Linked DNA regions of Homo sapiens: region 2 is linked to region 1. Evidence: promoter capture Hi-C in human tissues and cell types (Jung and others, 2019). All regions are on one chromosome and are shown on one strand. The core of a region is centred on a gene start or on the middle of the fragment in contact, and the rest is flanking DNA. Distances in the headings are between cores, read along the strand shown. Region 1 holds the start of SLCO1C1 (solute carrier organic anion transporter family member 1C1). Region 2 overlaps SLCO1B3-SLCO1B7 (SLCO1B3-SLCO1B7 readthrough).

Region 1 (3,624 bases), core at 422-2,921:
TAAGTACAGAGGACAGAGACATAAAGGGAGAAGATGGCCATGTGGTAACAGAAGCAGCTGTTGGAGTGATACACCTATAAAACAAGGAGTTCAGGCTGTCAGCAAACACCAGGAGGTGGAAGAGGTAAGGAGGATTCTTCCCTACAGGTCTCAGAGGGAGCATGGCTCTGCTGACACCTTGATTTTTGACTTCTGGCCTCCAAAAGTGTGAGACAATAAAGTTCTGTTTTAGGTCACTCAGCTTGTAGTACTTTGTTAGTGCAGTCTTAGGAAATGCATTCATTTATATGTTGTCTGTGGTTAATTTACCACCAGAATGGCAGAGGTGAGTGGTTGTGATAGAGATTGCATGGTCCTACAAAACCTAAAATATTTCTTATTTGTCCCTTTATAGAAGTTTGTTAACTCCCTCATCTAGAGTTTGGAAATGGGAATGAAAGGCTGAAGTAGGCTACAATCCAATGCAAGGTTGCACATAAGAAGCTCTGAATAAGTGTAAACATTATGTGCATTCAAAACAGTAACATTAACTGTGGACTCTGGAAATAAGAAAAGGAATCGTGTTGGAGAGTGAGACTGAGCCAGTTGGGAATAGACAAAATTACATTCTCAAGGGAGAATTTCATTTCTTGGTGAGGAAAATTATGCCCTTTGGGCTGGTAAATACTGTCTCCTCTTGAATAAAACAGTGGTCTGGCCACCTGTTAGACACTGAGAAGTCTAGACTAACACTCAATGTATTCGGATGTTTGCTCACTATTTCCGATGGAAAAGTCTGGTTTGATTGTTAAAGTAAAATATTTGGCCTTTCAGAGTGTGAAAACACCATTGCTTCATTGCAAGGTTTAATATAAACCCATTTTTCTTGCATTTTCTTTTCTTTCTTTTGTAGTAAAATGTGCTTGAATAATATTAACTATTCTGACCATTATGTGAACTAAATATATATATATATAAAATGATGATACCTTCCGCTCATTTGCAATGTGCTTTTGAATACATTATATAATTTAATCCTTAAAACAGCCCTATAAATCTGTTTTTTTTTTTTTTAAACAAAAAAATTCTGCTTTACAAAGGAAGAAGTTGAGACTCAGTAAAATTAAGTGACCATCCCAGAGTCTCAGCCACTTAAGAGTAGGGTGAATCTTGGATAATTCTGGTAGCAAATTTATTTATTGGTAGAAAATAAATGCAAACTACTACTGCTTAAGATCCTCTAAAGTTTTTCTCTTGGAAAAAGAATGTATTAGAATTGTGGACTTTCTCAGTGCAAGGATTTATTTATCCTTGGAATTAGGCAGAATAAACAATTGAATGCCAAAAATTCAACGTGTTTCTTTTCTGTTTTCAAAACTCATAGAAATTGTAAATATGAGCAACTGATCATGTCTCTGAGAATTAACTCTTTTTGTACAGAGCGCTGCAGAGCTTTGATTGTGACCTGATACTTGGTCCTTAAAGATTCTAGAACACCAATGGAAAAGAAAACCATGTAGCAAATTAGCCCAAGAACCGTTAAAGACAAAACAAAACAAACCAAAACCAAAACACACAAACAAAGAAAACACAAGGATCCCAGTGATGTCCCTAAGGAATAGTTGGCTTAAAAACTTTCTGGAAGGAGGAGGGGTCTCTGTTATAAACTTCCGCCCTCCTCTGGCTTCTGTTCCTTACCCTCTGCCCCCTGCGGAGTTGTGTTTTCTGGGAATCAGCAAGTAAGATCACAAGTGGTCTTTTCTTTTATTCACTCTCTCCCATAAAGAAAGCTTTATCACGTGTGGCCTTAAACTTGCAGCAAATTGCAAAGAAATGGCTCAAAAGCTTCAGCTCTTTCTGTGCCCTGGGAGCTGAGATGCACGTCAGTGGCCTTGCCAGCGTGGCCAATTCTCTGCTGACTGCCAGAAAAAAGAGGCCAGGAAGAAAGAGGAAAGAGAAGAGATCGCTCAGGGGTGAGACCATGCCCTTCATCTTTTCTTTTCCCTAATCTCCTCTGCTTGTGTCCACCCACACTCTCCCCACCTGGCAAAATTGTTCAAAATTGCTGTGGAGTTTACCTCAGTTTCCTCTTTCAGTCTGTGGTGTGTGGTCCATCCTCTTGCTGAGCACATTGAAAGGAACTGGCTATCTTTGATCTCTTCCTCCAGGTAAGACTTGGTTCTCTCATTTTATATTTTGTGACTAATACATCAGATTCTTATGGGAGATTAACCCTTAATTTCTGTGCGATTTATGTTTTATCCATAAAAATATCAGTGAAAGGTGATGATCCCCTCATTAGTTTGATGGAAATAAGAGAGAAGATTGGTTAAAGAAATCAGATAAACTCAAATTTGAGTTCAAATTTTGAGTCTCATGCTTATAAATTGTTTAGCTTTTGACAAGTCACTTAATTGCTTTGGGCCATCTAATTTAAAAAATGGAATTCTAATATTACGTTTGTTGGGTTGTTTTAAGGATTAGAAAAAGTACGTACATTACTCAACACAAAAATAGTACTTATTAAATCTGAATCTGACACAGATAATTTGTATTAGGTGAGAAATTAGTTTCTAAACAACACACACTCCTCTGCAGCAAGTGCCGTGAGGCTATTTTTTAGTTTGTCTGAAGGGAGGCATCCTGGTGTCCAGAAGTCAAGCCAGGACAGAGGTTTTCCTCACAGGAGATGGCCAAGAGAAGAGAGGGAGGAGCGTGGTTGCCTTTAGGACTTTCTCTGTGGCAGTCCTTGGGGACTGATTGCTGGACAGAGTCCGAGTCAGTTGCAGAGCAGAGGGGTTGAGTACATCTGCGGGATCTAACTACAACCTTCCTAAGCCACTTGCTCTCTCCATTTAAAATCTGGAGGGCTGATTTTGAAACTAATGAGGACTGATTATTCAATGTTTTTGAACCAAAGGAAGAGAAACTGCTTGGCTTGTTTTTCTTTGGCCTCCAGAATAAGTTATGCTCCAAACCCAGGGTATTGGATGAAAACTGTCGTATGTCTTTTCCTGGAAGAATCTATTCAAGTGGCCAGAGATCAATTAAGGATTTGCCAAATGCAAATAATTCTGAATAACTGTGTACTCTTGCTCTACTTCTGCAGTTGCAAATGAAGAGAGAGAGCCTGCAGGCCCCAAGGATCTTTCCGTTCATGTCATTGAGCTTCCTTCCCTCTCTTTTTACAGGGGATGAACTGTAGCCTCCTTGGAACATACTACACTTGCAATAATTTGCGCATTAACCATCAAGACACTTCAGTAAAGCTATGCAGTGCCAATAGTTTAAGCTGGATCCTATTTTGCCCTAACACAAAGTGAACTGAGATGACTATATTTATATTTCATTATACTTTTGAATTTTAGTTACAGTGATTTTTGTGTCAACACCTCCATATATTAGATAACTTAAAATGTGCTATAGTATCTCAAGTTTTTCAGTAGTGTTTTTAACATAATTATTTTTTCTCTTTGACATTAGCATTCTAGATGTAACACTTTGGATCTTTTAAAGATAAATTTAGGATAAATGATAGCAGATTTTATTATTAAACAATTTATTTGTATTTTCTGGTCACTGACTTTAATATTATGACTGATGAGAAATAATATGATATCTGAATCCCCAAAAACAGAAGGCCAA
Region 2 (3,624 bases), core at 719-3,218, 240 kb after region 1:
TTTTCTCCTAGTTTCCCTTCCCAGCTGCAAGGGTTTTCACCAGTACTCTCAAACCATAGTTTTTGTTGTCCTACCCTTTTGGAGATAAAGACTTTTATTCTTTAAAGGTGAAATGAGAGATTGATCTTGAGCAGGCCTTGAACAGTAGTTGCTGTTCTCATACCCCAGCCAGTACCAATGGAGCTGCCTAGAGATTATCTGTAATCTTCATATAGAGTGCATAGTGGGGCTACTGAAAGAATCAGCTGCAAGAAGCATAAAGCCCCTGATGTGTGCAGACTTCAGGGAATTCACACTTTCTTTTGTCCAGCCACATTTGGTATTTAGCAACTCATTAAACATTTCTAGCTGAATCATTTTACTTATACAGCACTGGTTGACTTCTGCTTCAAGTAAACAAGTGTTCAAATCCTATGTCTTCTTACAGGAGCCCATCTCTCTCTAGATTTCCAGTTAGCTGTTTGCCTGGTAAGCTCAACTCCTGATGGGTTCAAGAAAAGTTATGATTTGCATTTTATCCATCTTTTTCTATTGTAAGGGTGTGGGTGAGACATTCCTGCTCCCTGCATCTCTGATGGAAAGTGGAAGTCTCATTTTTATTTCTTTGATATAAAGGAAAATGTGCTTCAATTACCTTTATAAATTTTCAAGACCAATTTGAATATTGTGAGAGTACCTATTTCCCTTATCTGATTTTTCTTAATAGATTTTCTAATAATTCATATATTATGTATCTAGTAAACAAATAGTTTACCAAAACAAATAGTTTAATCCAGAGTGTAAGTAACTCTGGACTATTCTGTCAAAAGATTGATCCCTCATTCATTTTGTATTTATGATTTTGAATTATTTTCTTATATAAGCATTCCATTTAAGTTTTATAATGTTATGAGCCCAGGAGTTGGAGGTTACAAAAAACTATGATCATACCACTACACTCCTACCTGGGTGCTAGAGAGAGACCTTGTCTCCAAAAGAAAAAAATATATATAAGCTTAAAAATCCACAGCACATAGCCCTATCCCTGTTGGTGGAGATATTTCTTTTTCTTTTTTCTTTTCTTTTCTTTTCTTTTCTTTCCTTTCCTTTTCTTTTCTTTTCTTTCTTTCTTTCTTTCTTTTTCTTTCTTTTTATTATACTTTAAGTTCTAGGGTACATGTGCACAACATGCAGGTTTGTTACATATGTATACATGTGCCATGTTGGTGTGCTGCACCCATTAACTTGTCGTTTACATTAGGTATGTCTCCTAATGCTATCCCTCCCCCGTCCCCCCACCCCACGACAGGCCCGAGTGTGTGACGTTCCCCACCCTGTGTCCAAGTGTTCTCATTGTTCAACTGGTGGATATATTAAGTGCTGCCTTGGGTAACAACCCTCCAGCAGTGTCCCAGCTCTGCCACCTTTCCTGTGTTGTCTTTCTTCCCTAGACTTTTTCCCTCATGGTTGCAAGGTGGCTACTGCTCCCCAGGGCTAATATCCACAGTTCAGAATAGAGGAAAATGTCTCTCAGAAAGCTTTGTTGTTTTATTTCAGAAAGAAATCTCTTCCCAACTTGCAAGCCTCTGCCAAATATCTCATTGGCCTAAGCTGTAACCACTGAAGTATAGCCAGTAGCAAAGGAGACATTCTTATATTTGCTTCTGTTATTCCACCAATAAGGACTGGATTTTGTTCTTCCTCTTCATCAATCTAGAGTCATCATTTCTCACCAAGACCTGCATTAGAAGCTTAGGCACACAACTCTGATTAGTGACTCATCACATATGGATAGGGTTAGAAATTACCTAGTACTTTTCTTTGCTGCCCTCACTGCTGCAGTCATACCTATGTCAAAGTTACACTCCTCTCTTCCAATGATTTGAGCTCCTCTCTCTTGTTTCAAGGCTACCCTCATCTTGAATCTTGGTTATTTTTAATACACTCAAGAGATAAAATTCCAAACTTCATGTACCTAAAACTTAGTCCATAATTCTTCCCCCTAAACCTGTTCTACACAGTCTTTCTCTTCTCAGTTGCTTTCCTTTATATATGATGCATCCAATCATTTGGGAAATCATATTAGCCTGTAAAGAATCTGTACAAAGTCCTTCAATTAACTAGCCTGCTTTCTGCCCAGCTACCAGCTCAAACTCTGAACTGGCAACTCAGTTTTCCACCTCCAATCCAGCCTCCTTCTAAGTGCATTCTGTATTCCAGCTTCCTCCACTCTGTTGTATCCCTGCAGACATTCTCACTCCCTTTATAGCAGCAGTCCCCAACCTTTTTGGCACCGATTTTTCCACAAACCAGGGGTGGTGGGAGGAATGGTTTCAGATTGAAGCTGTTACACCTCAAATCATCAGGCATTAGTAAGATTCTTCTAAGGAATGCACAACCTAGATCGCTCACATGTGCAGTTCACAATAGGATTCGTGCTCCTGTGAGAATCTAATGCTGCCTGTGATCTGACAGGAGCAGAGCTCAGGCGGTAATGCTTGCTCACAGGCCACTCACCTCCTGCTGTGTGGCCAAGTTCCTAGCAGGCCACCAACCAGTACAAGTCTGTGGCCCAGGGTTGGGGACAACTGCTTATAGTACACATAAATAACCGTAGTGTTTTTACACTCAGTTTCCCTACCTTTCCTTCCTCCATTCTCTTTACCATTAGAGATTTACATCATTTTTATATATTGACTGTCATTTCAATAGGAGGCAGAATAAAAAGACAAATAGAAATATGTCTGTCCATTTTACTCTCTTGTACTAGAAGCCCTATGTTAATTTAGTAAGTCCTCTTCTACCTCTAAAATCCTTTCCTTTTTTATTTCATCCATAAGTTACAAATAATATGAGCATATTTAGTTTTTAATATATACCTTGATGACCTTCATGAAACCCAGTTTCATTACAGAAGCTACTTTTTAAACATTTCATTCTCTGAGATTATTTTTGGAAATTTAGTGTTTGTGTTCTAATAGGACACAATGGGTGGCATAAATGGTCTAAAGAGTCCTCCTGAATCTGGGAAAGCAGTCTTTTGACAATATGTGACACTACAAATGCCCTTTGAAGATGAGTTTTTCTAACATTGTTCTCTTATCCTTTGATGCAGACACTTGTCTTTTTTTTAAGTAAATATTTTTATGTTTAATTTTTGTTGGCACATAGTAAGTATATATGTATTTATGGGGTACAGAAGACATTTTGATAGAGGCATATTATGCATAATAATCATACCAGGGAATGTGGGGTATAATCACTACAAGCATTTATCCTTTCTTTGTATTAAAAACAATTCCATTTTACTCTTTCAGCTATTTTTAAATATTCAATAAATTACTGCTGACTATGGTAACCCTCTTATGCTATCAAATTCTAGGTCTTATTTATTACTTGTAACTATTTTTTGCATCCAGTAACCATCCCCACATTCCCCTACCATCACCCCACAACCATTCCTAGCCTCTGGTAACCATCCTTCTACTCTGTCTATATATGAGTGCAATTGTTTCGATTTTTACCTCCCATAAATGAGAACATATGAAGTTTGTGTGCGTCACTAAATTCACTTAACATAATGACCTCCAGTTCTGTCCATGTTGTTGGAAAAGCCAGGACCTCATTCTTTTTTATGACTGAATA

Evidence for each region. The method cuts DNA at HindIII sites, captures the fragments that hold promoters and counts their contacts. A contact is called where the count stands out against the background at its distance.
Region 2: a fragment that was not itself captured here is called in contact with the fragment with the promoter of SLCO1C1 in region 1 in 2 of the 25 tissues and cell types used here (adrenal gland and psoas muscle).

What each region holds. Positions count from the first base shown.
Region 1 is chr12:20,693,661-20,697,284 of GRCh38, forward strand. It overlaps SLCO1C1 (solute carrier organic anion transporter family member 1C1), which reads left to right and starts at 1,672. Exons shown (of 15, transcript NM_017435.5): 1 at 1,672-2,147. The HindIII fragment of the contact is 14,433 bases long and covers 1-3,624 here.
Region 2 is chr12:20,929,600-20,933,223 of GRCh38, forward strand. All of the region lies in intron 13 of SLCO1B3-SLCO1B7 (SLCO1B3-SLCO1B7 readthrough), which reads left to right. All of the region lies in intron 1 of LOC124902894 (putative solute carrier organic anion transporter family member 1B7), which reads left to right. Among named protein-coding and RNA genes, the nearest start is that of SLCO1B3-SLCO1B7, 120 kb to the left of the region's middle. The HindIII fragment of the contact is 3,901 bases long and covers 19-3,624 here.